Linked DNA regions of Homo sapiens: region 1 is linked to region 2. Evidence: promoter capture Hi-C in human tissues and cell types (Jung and others, 2019). All regions are on one chromosome and are shown on one strand. Each heading gives the region's core, a stretch centred on a gene start or on the middle of the fragment in contact. The rest is flanking DNA. Distances are from core to core; before and after follow the strand shown.

Region 1 (7,510 bases), core at 3,884-6,383, 170 kb before region 2:
CTCTACACTTTGTCTCTGTGTCTTATTTCTTTTCTCAGTCTCTCATCCCACCTGACGAGATATCCCACAGGTATGGAGGGGCAGGCCACCCCTTCATCTGACGCCCAATATGGGGCCTTTCTCCAGGGTGAAGTTATGCTGAGAACGTGAGTATTGAGGACAGCTGATGAGAGATTCCCGAGTACGTCCACGGTCAGCCTTGCAGTATGCTTGTGCGCTCGGAGGAATCCAGGGTAACAATGGGGCAAACTGAAAGTAAATATGCCTCTTATCTCAGCTTCATTAAAATTCTCTTAAGAAGAGGGGGAGTTAAAGCTTCTACAGAAAATCTAATTACGCTATTTCAAACAATAGAACAATTCTGCCCATGGTTTCCAGAACAAGGAACTTTAGATTTAAAAGATTGGGAAAAAATTGGCAAGGAATTAAAACAAGCAAGTAGGGAAGGTAAAATCATCCCACTTACAGTATGGAATGATTGGGCCATTATTAAAGCAACTTTAGAACCATTTCAAATAGAAGAAGATAGCATTTCAGTTTCTGATGCCCCTGAAAGCTGTGTGATAGATTGTGAAGAAGAGGCAGAGACAGAGTTCAAGAAAGGAACGGAAAGTTCACATTGTAAATATGTAGCAGAGCCGGTAATGGCTCAGTCAACGCAAAGTGTTGACTACAATCAATTACAGGAGGTAATATATCCTGAAACATTAAAATTAAAAGGAAAAAGTCCAGAATCATTGGGGCCATTGGGGCTACAACCACAATGGCCACCTCCTCCTCAGCCGAGTGAGTGCTGGGGGAGGCAGCCTGAAACTAGGCACACTGCGACTTGGCTCGTGGCACTCATTATTGCCCAACCTACAGTTCACTACAGTGAAGGAGCAATTCAGACTCGCCCTGCAGTGTCCTGTATGGGTCAAACAGTGGCCACTCTCTAAGGAAAAGTTGGGGGCGCTACATAAAATAGTTAAAAAACTATTTAAAAAAGGACATGTTTCACCCACTTTCTCTCTTTAGAATTCTCCTGTGTTTGTAATTCAGAAAAAATCAGGCAGATGGCGCATGCTGACTGACTTAAGAGCTGTTAATGCCATAATACAACCCATGGGTGCTCTCCAACCCGGGATGCCCTCTCTGGCCATGATCCCCAAAGACTGGCCTTTAATTATAATTGATCTGAAGGACTGCTTTTTTACCATTCCTCTGGCAAAACAGGATTTTGAAAAATTTGCTTTTACTATACCAGCCGTAAATAATAAAGAACCAGCCAGGTTTTAGTGGAAAGTGTTGCCTCAGTCCAACTATTTGTCAGACTTTTGTAGCTCAAGTTCTTCAACCAGTTAGAGACAAGTTTTCAGATTGTTATGTCATTCATTATGTTGATGATATTTTGTGTGCTGCAGAAACAAGAGACAAATTAATTGACTGTTACACATTTCTGCAGACAGATGTTGCAAACGCAGGACTGACAATAGCATCTGATAAGATTCAGACCTCTACTCCTTTCCATTATTTGGGAATGCAGGTAGAGGAAAGGAAAATTAAACCACAAAAAATAAAAATAAGAAAAGACACATTAAAAAACATTAAATGACTTTCAAAAATTGCTAAGACATATTAATTGGATTCGGCCAACTCTAGGCATCCCTACTTATGCCATGTCAAATTTGTTTTCTATCTTGAGAGGGGATCCAGACTTAAACAGTAAAAAACCATTAACTCCAGAAGCAACTAAAGAAATTGAATTAGTTGAAGAAAAAATTCGGTCAGCACAAGTAAATAGAATAGATCATTTAGCCCCACTCCAACTTTTGATTTTTGCTACTGCACATTCTCCAACAGGCATTATTGTTCAAAATACTGATCTTGCAGAGTGGTCATTCCTTCCTCACAGTACAACTAAGACTTTTACATTGTACTTAGATCAAATGGCTACATTAATTGGTCAGGCAAGACTACATATAGTAAAATTGTGTGGAAGTGACCCAGATAAAATCATTGTTCCTTTAAACAAGGAACAGGTTAGACAAGCTTTTATCAATTCTGCTGCATGCCAGATTGGTCTTGCTGATTTTGTGGGAATTATTGACAATCATTACCCAAAAACAAAAATCTTCCAGTTCTTAAAATTGATTACTTGGATTTTACCTAAAATTACCAGATATAAACCTTTAGAAAATGCTCTGATGGCGTTTACTGATTGTTCCAGCAATGGAAAAGTGGCTTAAACTGGGCCAAAAGAACAAGTCATTGAAACTCAATATCACTCAGCTCAAAGAGCAGAGTTGGTTGCTGTCATTTCAGTGTTACAAGGTTTTAATCAGCCTATTAACATTGTTTCAGATTCTGCATATGTAGTACAGGCTACAAAGGATGTTGAGACAGCCCTAATCAAATATAGTATGGATGATCAGTTAAATCAGCTGTTTAATTCGTTACAACAAACTGTAAGAAAAAGAAATTTCCCATTTTATATTACTCATATTCGAACACATACTAATTTACCAGGGCCTTTAACTAAGGCAAATGAACAAGCTGACTTGCTAGTATCATCTGCATTCATAAAAGCATAAAAACTTCGTGCCTTGACTCATGTAAATGCATCAGGACTAAAAAATAAATTTGATATCATATGAAAACAGGCAAAAAATGTTGTACAACATTGTACTCAGTGTCAAGTCCTACATGTGCCCACTCAGGAGGCAGGAGTTAATCCCAGAGGTTTATGTCCCAATGCATTATGGCAAATGGATGTCACACATGTACCTTCATTTGGAAAATTGTCATTTGTCCATGTGACAGTTGATACTTATTCACATTTCATATGGGCAACCTGCCAGACAGGAGAAAATACTTCCCATGTTAAAAGACATTTATTATCTTGTTTTGCTGTCATGGGAGTTCCATAAAAAATTAAAACAGATAATGGGCCAGGATACTGTAGTAAAGCATTTCAAAAATTCTTAAATCAGTGGAAAATTACACACACAACAGAAATCCCTTATAATTCCCAAGGACAGGCCATAATTGAAAGAAGTAATAGAACACTCAAAGCTCAATTGGTTAAACAAAAAAAGGAAAAGGACAGTAAGGAATATAACACTCCCCAGATGCAACTTAATCTAGCACTCTATACTTTAAATTTTTTTAACATTTATAGAAATCAGACCGCTACTTCTGCAGAACAACATTTTACTGGTAAAAAGAACAGCCCACATGAGGAAAAACTGATTTGGTAAAAAGACAACAAAAATAAAACATAAAAAATAGAGAAGGTGATAACGTGGGGGAGAGGTTTTGCTCGTGTTTCACCAGGAGAAAATCAGCTTCCAGTTTGGGTACCTACAACTTACAGAAAAAGTTGCCATCCACCAAAAAAGCGAAGCCGCCGACCTGGGCCCAGCTAAAGAAGCTGACACAGTTAGCTGAAAAAAGCCTAAAGTACACAAGGGTAACACAAACTCCAGAGAATATGCTGCTTGCAGCTTTAATGATTGTATCAATGGTGGTAAGTCTCACTATGTCTGCAGGAGCAGCTGCAGCTAATTATACTTACTGGGCCTATGTGCCTTTCCCGCCCTTAATTCAGGCAGTCACTTGGATGGATAATATTCTATTGAAGTATGTGTTAATATTAGTGCATGGGTACCAGGACCCACAGATGACCGCGGCCCTGCCCAACCTGAAGAAGAAGGAATGATGATAAACATTTCCACTGGGTATCATTATCCTCCTATTTGCCTGGGGAAAGCACCAGGATGCTTAATGCCTACAACCCAAAATTGGTTGGTAGAAGTATCTACTGTCAGTGCCACCAATAAATTTACTTATCATATGGTAAGTGGAATGTCACTTGGGTCACAAATGAATAATTTACAGGACTCTTCTTATCAAAGATCATTAAAATTTAGGCCTAAGGGGACCTTGCCTCAAGGAAATTCCCAAAGAATCAAAAGACCCAGAAGTCTTAGTTTGGGAAAAATATGTGGCTGATACTGTGGTGGTATTACAAAACAATAAATTTGGAACTATTATAGACTGGGCCCCTCAAAACCAATTATATTATGGTTGTATGGGCCAGACTCACTCATGTTCACAGACCCCATCTGTCTGGCCCACTAATCCGGCCTATGATAGTGATTTAACTGAAAGGCTAGACCAGGTTTATAGAAGGCTAGAATCACCCTATCCATGGAAATGGGGTGAAAAGGGGATTTCATCACCTCAACCAAAGTTAGTTAGTCCTGTTACTGCTCCTGAACATCCAGCATTATGAAAGCTTACTGTGGCCTCGCACCACATTAGAATTTGGTCTGGAAATCAAGTTATCGGAACAAGAAATCATAAGCCACATTATACTATTAACCTAAATTCCAATCCGACAATTCCTTTGCAAAGTTGTGTAAAACCCTCTTATATGCTAGTTGTAGGAAACATAGTTATTAAACCAGATTCCCAAACTATAACCTGTGAAAATTGTAGATTGTTTACTTGCATTGATTCAACTTTTGATTGGCAGCACCATATTCTGCCAGTGAGGGCAAGAGAGGGTGTGTGGATCCCTGTGTCCATGGACCGACCGTGGGAGGCTTCCCCATCCATCCATATTTTAACAGAAGTATTAAAAGGAGTTCTAACTAGATCCAAAAGATTCATTTTTTACTTTAATTGCAGTGATTATGGGTCTTATTGCAGTCACAGCTACTGCTGCGGCTGCTGGAATTGCTTTACACTCCTCTGTTCAAACTACAAAATATATAAATAATTGGCAAAAGAACTCCTCAAAATTGTGGAATTCTCAGACTCAAATAGACCAAAAATTGGCAAACCAAATTAATGATCGTAGACAAACTGTCATTTGAATGAGAGATAGGCTCATGAGCTTAGAATATCTTTTTCAGTTACAGTGTGACTGGAATATGTCAGATTTTTGTATTACACCTCGAGCCTATAATGAATCTGAACATCACTGGGACATGGTTAGACGCCATCTACAAGGAAGAGAAGATAACCTTACTTTAGATATTTTAAAATTAAAATAACAAATTTTTGAGGCATCAAAAGCCCAGTTCAATCTGGTGCCAGAAACTGAGGCAATGGTGAAAGCTGCTGATGGCCTCACAAATCTTAACCCCATCACTTGGGTTAAAACCACTGGAAGTTCCACTATTGCAAATTTTGTATTAATCCTTGTATGTCTGTTCTCTGTTGCTGGTCTACAGGTGTATCCAGCAGCTCCAGAGAGACAGCAACCAGCGAAAACAGGCCATAATGACTATGGCGGTTTTGTCAAAAAGAAAAGGGGGATATGTACGGCAAAGAAAGAGAGATCAGACTGTTACTGTGTCTATGTAGAAAGGGAAGACATAAGAAATTCCATTTTGACCTGTACCTTGAACAATTGCTTTGCTGAGATGTTGTTAATTTGTAACTTTGCCCCAGCCACTTTGCCCCAACTTTGAGCTCACAAAAACATGTGTTGTCTGGAATCAAGGTTTAAGGGATCTAGGGCTGTGCAGGATATGCCTTGTTAACAAAATGTTTACAAGCAGTATGCTTGGTAAAAGTCATCGCCATTCTCTAATCTCAATAAACCAGGGGCACAACGCACTGCGGAAAGCCGCACGGACCTCTGCCTTGGAAAGCCACGTATTGTCCAAGGTTTCTCCCCATGTGATAATCTGAAATATGGCCTTGTGGGATGAGAAAGACCTGACTGTCCCCCAGCCCAACACCCGTAAAGGGTCTGTGCTGAGGTAGATTAGTAAAAGAGGAAAGCCTCTTGAAGTTGAAATAGAGGAAGGCCACTGTCTCCTGCCTGCCCCTGGGAACTGAATGTCTCGGTATAAAACCTGATTATACATTTGTTCAATTCTGAGATAGGAGAAAAACCGCCCTATGGCGGGAGGCGAGACATGTTGGCAGCAATGCTGCCTTGTTATTCTTTACTCCACTGAGATGTTTGGGCGGGGAGAAACATAAATCCGGCCTACGTGCACATGCAGGCATAGTACCTCCCCTTGAACTTAATTATGACATAGATTCTTTTGCTCACATGTTTTTTTGCTGACCTTCTCCTTATTATCACCCTGCTCTCCTACTGCATTCCTCTTGCTGAGATAATAAAAATAATAATCAATAAAAAGTGAGGAAACTCAGAAACCGATGCTGGTGCAGGTCCTTGATATGCTGCTTGCCAGTCTCCTGGGCCCACTGTTGTCTCTATACTTCATCTCTGTGTCTTACTTCTTTTCTCAGTCTCTCGTCCCACCTGATGAGATACCCACAGGTGTGGAGGGACAGGCCACCGCTTCACTCAGCTTCCCAAAGTGCTGAAATTACATGCGTGAGCCATGTGCCCTGCCCCATACACAAAAATTAATTCAAAGTGAATCACATAACTAAATGTATGGGCTGGGGACGGTGTCTCACGCCTGTAATCCCAGCACTTTGGGAGGCCAGGGCAGGCGGATCATAAGGTCAGGAGATCAAGACCATCCTGGCTAACACAGTGAAACCCCGTCTCTACTAAAAATACAAAAAATTAGCTGGGCGTGGTGGTGGGCACCTGCAGTCCCAGCTGCTCTGGAGGCTGAGGCAGGAGAATGGCGTGAACCCGGGAGGCGGAGCTTGCAGTGAGCAGAGATCACGCCACTGCACTCCAGCCTGGGCGACACAGCGAGACTCCGTCTCAAAACAAACAAACAAACAAAAAACAAAACTAAATGTATGAACTAAAACAAGAAAACTAGAAGAAAACATAGGAATAAATCTCTGTGACCTTGGGGTTCTAGACATAACATCCAAAGCATACACAACAAAAGAAAAAATAAACTGGACCTCATCAAAATTAAGAACTTTTGTGCTTCAAGGATACCCATTAAGAAAATGAAAAGACAGCCCATGGAATGGAAGGAAATATCTGCAAATCATAAATCTGAATGTTTCCAAAAAAGATACACAAACAGCCAAGGCTGGGCACGGTGGCTCACGTCTGTAATCCCAGCACTTTGGGAGGCTGAGGTGGGTGGGTCACCTGAGGTCAGGAGTTTGAGACCAGCCTGGCCAACACGACAAAACCCCATCTCTACCAAAAATACAAAAATTAGCTGGGCGAAGTCACATGCACCTGTAGTCCCAGCTACTTAGGAGGCTGAGGTACGAGAATCGCTTGAGCTCAGGAGGCAGAGGTTGCAATGAGCCAAAATTGCTCCACTGCACTCCAGCCTGGGCAACAGAGTGAGACCATGTATAAAAAAAAAAAAAAAAAAAAGCCCGGGCATGGTGGCTCATACCTGTAATCACAGCACTTTGGGAGGCCAAGGCGGGCAGATCACCTAAGGTCAGGAGTCTGAGACCAGCCTGACCAATATGATGAAACCCCATCTCTACTAAAACTACAAAAATTAGCCAGGCGTGATGGCATGCACCTGTAATCCCAGCTACTTGGAAGGCTGAGACTGGAGAATCACTTGAATCCGAGAGTCGGAGGTTGCAGTGAGCCACTGCA
Region 2 (7,432 bases), core at 4,338-6,837:
GAGGCCAGCCCTAGGGTCCTTTGAGTCTGACTCTGAAGGAGAGGACTTGGTAGAAAGTACTCGGGACAAACAGGGCAGGGAGTAGGGTCTGGGGTTATCAGGGGGCTCCATGGGCAGCTGGGAGCTGCTAGGGAGAGGGTGCCAGAGGAGGGAGAGGAAGAACCCAGGGTCGGGGTTCAGAAGGACCTGATTCAAGTCTTAGTTCTGCCACTGTCAAGATGTGTGACTTTGGGCAAGGGGCTCTGCCTCTCTGAGCATTGGTTTCCTGAGCTGAAAAAAGGGAATAATAGCACCTCCCCCATAGGTTATGAGGATGAAAGAGGAAAGATGTGGGTTAGACATAAAGGCTGGGTCGGCTACAGTGCTGCTGCCCCACGTAAGGCACCGGTGCTATGAGCTGATGGGTGCAGAGACGTCTGGGAAGGAAGGGGAATGCAGGGAGGGAGGATGGCCAAACGGTTGGCTTTGGCCACCTGGTAGGGTAGATGGAAACACTGCCAGCCTATCAGAGCCAGCGGCTGGGCACACCCAGGGCCCGGATGTCGCATGGGTCCCCATCAAAGCTGGCAGAAGCCGTGGGGGCTACCTAGGAACAACCAGAAACTGGTCCAAGTCCTGGCCCCTCTGATCTAAGAGGGCCCTGGAACACATGTCCCCATTTTCCAAACGGGGACACCAAGGCCTTCTCTAGCTAAGAGAAAGGGCTTGCCCAAGGTCACAGCCAGGGTGAAGACCTGCAGGAGTAAGATAAGGAACAACAAACACTGTTGGCCAGCCCTGTCCTAAGGGTTTCCTCATGACCTCATCAACCTCTAATGCAAGGAGGGCTGTTTCCCATTTCACAGATGCTGCCACTGAGGCTGAGCAAGGGGCAGGGCCACGCAGGAGTCGGTCAGCCATGAATCATCCCTGGCTGCAGTTGGCTCCAGCTGCGGTGGGGGGTGGCGGGCTGGGCGGCCACCAGGAGCTCAGCAGCCATCAATTATGTAGCAGAGCTTGGGTTTCTCCCTGCAGGGCTGGGAGGGCCCAGCTGCCAGGGGTATGGCCTCAGCTCCTGCCTGGGGCCAGCTGCTCCTGGCCTCCCTCCCCCACCCTGGCTGGCTCTGCCTCCTCTTCCTCGTCACACTCCCCAAAATGAGACCTTCCAGAGCAGAGGCTCAGATTTCCTCGTGGCTCTATTACCTCACCCAGTCCTTTGAGGGGGGTGGCGTTCACCCCATTTCCCAAATGAGGAAACCAAGGCTCGAAGAGGCAAAGTCTCCCTTCTGGACCTGAGAGCCCCTGCCTGGAGAATGCAGATAACAGGATCTAGTTCATTGGCTATTTGGCCAGCACACAGTATGGGGCTGATACATGTTAGCTAGTATTATTATCACCATCATTAATGAAAAGCCTTGGCTAGGTGCAGTGGCTCATGCCTATAATCCCAGCACTTTGGAAGGCCGATGTGGGCAGATGGATTGAGCCCAGGAGTTCAAGACCAGCCTGGGCAACCGTGAGACCTCCTCTCTACAAAAAAAAAAAAAAAAAAAAAAAAGCCCGGCACGGTGGCTTATGCCTATAATCCCAGCACTTTGGGAGGCCAAGGCAGGCGGATCACGAGGTCAGGAGATCGAGACCATCCTGGCTAGCAAGGTGAAACCCCTTCTCTACTAAAAATACAAAAAATTAGCCGGGTGTGGTGGCGGGCACGTGTAGACCCAGTAACTCGGGAGGCTGAGGCAGGAGAATGGCATGAACCTGGGAGGCGGAGCTTGCAATGAGCATCGCCCCACTGCACTCCAGCCTGGGCCACAGAGTGCGACTCAGTCTCAAAAAAAAAAAAAAAAATTAGCTGGGCGTGGTGGCACCCACCTGTAGTCCCAGCTACTCAAGGGGCTGAGGTGGGAGCCCAGGAGGCGGAGGTTGCAATGAGCCAATATCATGTCACTGCACTCCAGCCTGGGTGACAGACCAAGAACCTGCCTTAAAAAAAGAAAGACTTTGGGAGGCCGAGGTGGGCGGATCACGAGGTCAGGAGATCAAGACCATCCTGGCTAACACGGTGAAACCCCATCTCTACTAAAAATACAAAAAATTAGCCAAGCGTGGTGGCAGGCGCCTGTAATCCCAGCTACTCGGGAGGCTGAGCCAGGAGAATGGCATCAACCTGGGAGGTGGAGCTTGCAGTGAGCCGAGATCACGCCACTGCACTCCAGCCTGGGTGACAGAGCGAGACTCCATCTCAAAAAAAAAAAAAGACAGCAAGGAAGCCAGGCATGGTGGCTCACGCCTGTAATCCCAGCACTTTGGGAGGCCAAGGCAGGTGAATCACGTGAGGTCAGGAGTTCGAGACCAGCCTGGCTAACATAGTAAAACCCCATCTCTACTAAAAATACAAGAATTAGCATGACGTGGTGGTGGGCGCCTGTAATCCCACCTACTCGGGAGGCTGAGGCAGGAGAATTGCTTGAACCGGGGAGGCGGAGGCTGCAGTGAGCTGAGACTGCGCCAGCCTGCGTGACAGAGTGACTCCGTCTCAAAAAAAAAAAAAAAAAGGCCAGGCATGGTGGCTCATACCTGTAATATCAGCACTTTGGGAGGCCGAGGCAGGAGGATCACTTGAGCCCAGGAGTTTGAGACCAGCCTGGCCAACGTGGTGAAACCCTGTCTCTACTAAGTACAAAAAAAAAATTAGCCAGGAGTGGTGGCAGGTGCCTATAATCCCAGTTACTCGGGAGGCTGAGGCAGAAGAATCACTTGAACCTGAAAGGTGGAGGTTGCAGTGAGCCGAGATTGTGCCACTGCACTCCAGCCTCGGCGACAGGATGAGACTCTGTCTCAAAAAAAAAAAAGGAAGGAAAGAAGAAAGGAGAGAGGGACTAAGGGAGGAAGGAAGGAAGGCAGGCAGGCAGGCAGGCAGGCAGGCAGGCCTCCCTCACATCCCTCCTCAGCTCTCAGGAGCTACCCTGATGGTACCAAGGGCATCACCCTAAATGTGCACCTCAACACCTCCCCTCCTTACCAAGGTTCAGAGCAGCACTCCCCACCCCGCCCTCCCTTACAGGCCACATCTGCCCAGGTGAGAAGTTCTACCAGGCTTTCCCAAACTAGACGGCATCCATCCCATGTCCACTGCAGTCTGCCTAGCTCCATGATGACGATGCCACCACCTCTCTGGACTTTATAAGTATTACTTCTACCACTACTATTACTGTTACTGCAATTACTACTAATAGTATTAGTACTATCACTCCTCCTGCCCTCTCCCACCCCCACTGGCATCTTGTCCAAATCTGCCTTAGGTTTTCTTGCCTCGGTGCCCTTATCTGGGCTGCTCCTGCCACTTGGACCAACATCATGAGCCCCTCCCTACTTTCTGAGCACAGTTCAGGGGCCCTCCATGCAGGAGACCATCCCAGAATGACCCATACAAAAGGGATCCTGCCCTCTGGATCCTCATCTCAGGGCCAAGGCCTTGTTCCTTGCTGGATCGGGGAGGCTCTTAAAGTTGTTTCTTGTACCTGCAGGGACTGGGAGGTTCCTGAGCCCATCACATGTATTGATCATAAAGAACCCCTCTCCCATCCCTCCTGACTGTCTCCCATCCAGGCCAGCTTGGTCTCAGGCGGAGCCCCTCTGTGGCCTCTCCTGCCAGGTCACATTTCAGGCCTCTCTATCCCCTGGCCTGCCACTCTGCCCCAATCCTGCCAAGAGGAAGGGGTTTGGTGCTGGAGTCCGAGGCTGCTCCCGGGAAAATGGCAGCAGTGGGGTGGGCGTGCAGAGCAGAGAAAGCCTCTATTTATAAAGCTCTCAGCTCCCTCCCTCCCACCCCGAGGCTGGGGCCTGACTGCTGGCTCCCACTCCAGTAACAGTGACCCTGTGGGGCAGCTCCCACCAAGCGGAGCCACACCTAGGCCCTGCCCTGCCTAGGTCCTGAGAGCCCTGGCCAGGTCAGGCAGCAGGGCCCCAGCCCTAGCAGGGAACTGGCAGATCAGGTTCTTCCCAGATGTGGGAGATAGTGTGGTTGCCATACCAACAGCAGAGTGGGTTCCCCCCTCCCAGATGGACTGGGGCCGTCCAATCCGAGGGGCTCTGGGATCCTGGCATCTCCACTAGGGCTGGGGCTGCCCACCAGACTTGGAACACATTAAGCAGTGAATTCTCGCTGGGATGCTAATCCTCAGCGGGACACAGCACCTTCTAGTAAACATGACTACATGGGTTGCTGGCTGGGTGTGGGCTCCTGGGGAGGGGAGTGCCCGGGTTGGGGGTGGGGAGAGAACTGTACTCAACAGAAACAACAACGATGACAACGACAACGACAAAGACAAGACTACAGGACCTGCTCCCAGAACCCTGGGATGGGCCAGCCCCGGGCCTGCGGAATCCCACTGAATCCCATAACCACGGTGTTACACCAGATTTACAGAAGGGGAGGGCGGGGCTCTGAGAGAAGTGACTTGTCCAAGGTCACATGCTGCACAGGTGCAATATTAACCACTTTGACACCAATAATGAGCTTGCCTTTGGTGAGCACACATATGCAGAGTCCCACAGAATCCTCGCATCTGTCCTGGGAGGCAGGAATACTGATCCCATTTTTCAGACTGAGAAACTGAGGCCCAGTGAGATGAAGGCCCCTCCCCCAAGGTCACAGGAGGGCACATTCCCACCCACACCTGACCCTAGGTCTTCCCATGATGTTGAGTTGCCTGTTACTCTCTGCCCCTAAACGGATAGGACTTCTTCCAATCTCAGCATCGTGGGCCTGGACAGCTTCCCAGCCAGACCCCAGCCCTCTCTCCATCCCCCAGGCCCAGGGACCAAGGAAACAGACCTCCCGTGGAGCAGAAAAGAAACAACTCCTGGCTTCCGGCCTGACTATCCAAACGTGTGAAATGGCCATGAGGGACTCATGGCACCAGCCGCCCATTGCACAGGTGCGGAGACTGAGGCTCGGAGAAGGGGTTGTGGTGGACGCATGAGTCCCTGGGCCTGGGACCCAGGTCGCTAAATGCCCCGCCAGGCGCCAGTCACTGCTGGACAAGGGCAGGGAGGTAGCACCCAGCCGGTGCCTCCTCCCCTCCTCAGCCAGGCAGGCGCCAGGGGAGCAGGGTAACCCAACCAGCCCAAAGGGTGGGCACCGGTGCCTCGCCCCAGGCAGCAGGGCCAAGGCCCGGCTCGGGCCGCACGGGCTCTTTCCCTCTTCCGGTCAGCAAGGGCTCAGGGGGGCAGAGGTGTGCCGCGGCGGGGACGAGGGCAGCAGCCCGGGAGGGCTTTCCCGCGTCCCCAGGCGTCTGCCGCAGGGTGCTCCCCGCCCGCCGCACATCCGGGCCCCCGGCGCACGGCGCGACGCCAGGCCTCACCTGCACCGCCCGGGTGAAGAAGATGCCCGCGTCCGACGCCAGCTTCTTCATGTTGAAGTCCATGGCGTGCCCGCACGGCCGCCGCGCACGGCCCGAGCGCAGCCGGCAGCCCCCGGCCCAGCCGCCGCCGCCAACCGCACCCCGCCCACCTGCTGCGGGGCACCAGCCCTCCGCGCACCCGCCTGCCGGCCTGCCCGCCTGCCCGCCCGCCGCAGCCGCCGAGCCAGCCCGAGCGCGCAGGGCGGGGCGCGGAGGCCGCGGGTCGGAGCCAGAGGGGCGGGGGCGGAGCTGGCGGTGCCGGGGCGGGACGGGACGGCAGTGGGGCGGAGCTAGAGGGGCGGGGGCCGGGCTGGTTGGCGGAAGCCGGGCGGAGTCGGAGGGGGCGGGACTGGCGGGACAGGGGCGGAGCGAGAGGGCAGTGGGGCGGAGCTACATGGGTGGGGGCGAGGCCTTGGCGCGGCCAGAGCGGGGGTTGGTCTGGGGAGCAGGTTGTGCTGGGCAGGGCTCGCTGCTGGGCAGTGCTCGCTGCTGCCCCCATGCGCCTGCCGCCGCGGATTGGGCCGGCCTCTTTTTTTCCTTTTACTAAAATTATTAAAACTGGAACACATGTGCTCTTAGATGATTGCAGGTACACGCCATAATTACATATTATTTGCCATCTTACCAATGCTTTTCAAAAGTTTTAATTGATAAATATATATTTACGGCCTACAAGGTGATGAAATTGTGGAATGATGAAATCAAGTTAATTGACATATCCATCACCTCACCTACTTTTTTTGTGGTTAGAACATTTCAAATGTACTCTTTTAGCAATTTTGAAATATGCAATACTTTTTTTTTTTTTTTGTAGACAGAGTCTTGCTCTGTCGCCCAGGCTGGAGTGCAGTGGCGCGATCTCGGCTCACTGCAGCCTCCACCTGCCGGGCTCAAGCGATTCTCCTGCTTCATTCAGCCTCCCGAGTAGCTGGGACTACAGGCGCCCACCAACATGCCCCGCTAATTTTTTGTACTTTAGGAGAGACAAGGTTTTGCCATGTTGCCCAGGGTGGTCTTGAACTCCTGATCTCAGGCAATCTGCCTGCCTCAGTCTCCCAAAGTCACTAAGTGACTGAGTAGTCACCAATATGTGCAACAGATCTCTAAAATGGGCCTCTCTTGCTTTCTCCTCCCACCACCCAGGCCTGCTGCCTCTCCCCTGTTTGTGCCTCTTCATCTCCGCTCTTTATTCACACCCCCTCCCTCCCATTCCCATTTCTTCCACTCTGTTTCCCTTGGGTTTCCTCCCGTTACTCCTCCTCTCTGACCTCTCCTCCTCTCTTCTGCCCTGACCTTGGTGACTGAGCCGGAGTCAGGCTTGGGACTTGCCCTCCACCGCTGGAACAGCTGTTTGTCAGCCTGGGAGGCCCTGTGGCTTCCCCAAATTGGAGGAGGGTTGGGGTGGCGGTCACGGGAAGGGAGGGGGTTCTGGAGCTGGGGCCTGGAGCCCCCTGTGTGGTGAGAGGAGGAGATCAAAGGTTGGGTGACTGTCAGGGTGGAGAGAATGAGCTGCCCTGGGAGCACAGATGTGTGATAACCTTGAAACCAGCTCCTCACAGCCCCAGGCAAGGAGATGACCTACAGGTGCTCCTGACCCCAAATGCCTTCCCTTGGGGCTCAGATAGAGGCTTTGTACTGGTCTTCACCTCTCCTTGCTGTCTACCTCTAGGTTTCCTCTTTTTTTTTTTTTTTCTTTTTGAGATGGAGTCTCGCTCTTTCACCCAGGCTGGAATGCAGTGGCACCATCTCAGCTCACTGCAGCCACCGCCTCCCGGGGTCTAAGCGATTCTCCTGCCTCACCCTCCACAGTAGCTGGGATTACAGGCATGTGCCACCACGCCCGGCTGATTTTTGTATTTTTAGTAGAGACGGGGTTTCACCATGTTGGTCAGGCTGGTCTTGAACTCCTGACCTCGTGATCCACCTGCCTCCGCCTCCCAAAGTGCTGGGATTACAGGTGTGAGCCACCACGCCCGGCCTAGGTTTCACCTTTGAACCCAGTGGAGAGCTCTGTTCCCAAGCTGTACCCTCTTCTATCTGGCTTT

The links. Contacts are between HindIII fragments. The study calls those that stand out against the background at their distance.
Region 1: a contact is called between a fragment that was not itself captured here and the fragment with the promoter of SH3GLB2 in region 2, in 1 of the 25 tissues and cell types used here (dorsolateral prefrontal cortex).

What each region holds. Positions count from the first base shown.
Region 1 is chr9:128,851,143-128,858,652 of GRCh38, forward strand. The region is part of intron 1 of KYAT1-SPOUT1 (KYAT1-SPOUT1 readthrough); the gene reads right to left. All of the region lies in intron 1 of KYAT1 (kynurenine aminotransferase 1), which reads right to left. Among named protein-coding and RNA genes, the nearest start is that of SPOUT1, 25 kb to the left of the region's middle. The HindIII fragment of the contact is 3,957 bases long and covers 3,156-7,112 here.
Region 2 is chr9:129,022,744-129,030,175 of GRCh38, forward strand. It overlaps SH3GLB2 (SH3 domain containing GRB2 like, endophilin B2), which reads right to left and starts at 5,588. Exons shown (of 11, transcript NM_020145.4): 1 at 5,349-5,588. The coding sequence starts at 5,411. RefSeq lists enhancers at 1-606, 4,013-4,576, 4,577-5,140, 5,825-6,564, 6,565-7,304 and 2 more and silencers at 3,857-4,088, 4,971-5,480, 5,521-5,950. The HindIII fragment of the contact is 26,388 bases long and covers 1-7,432 here.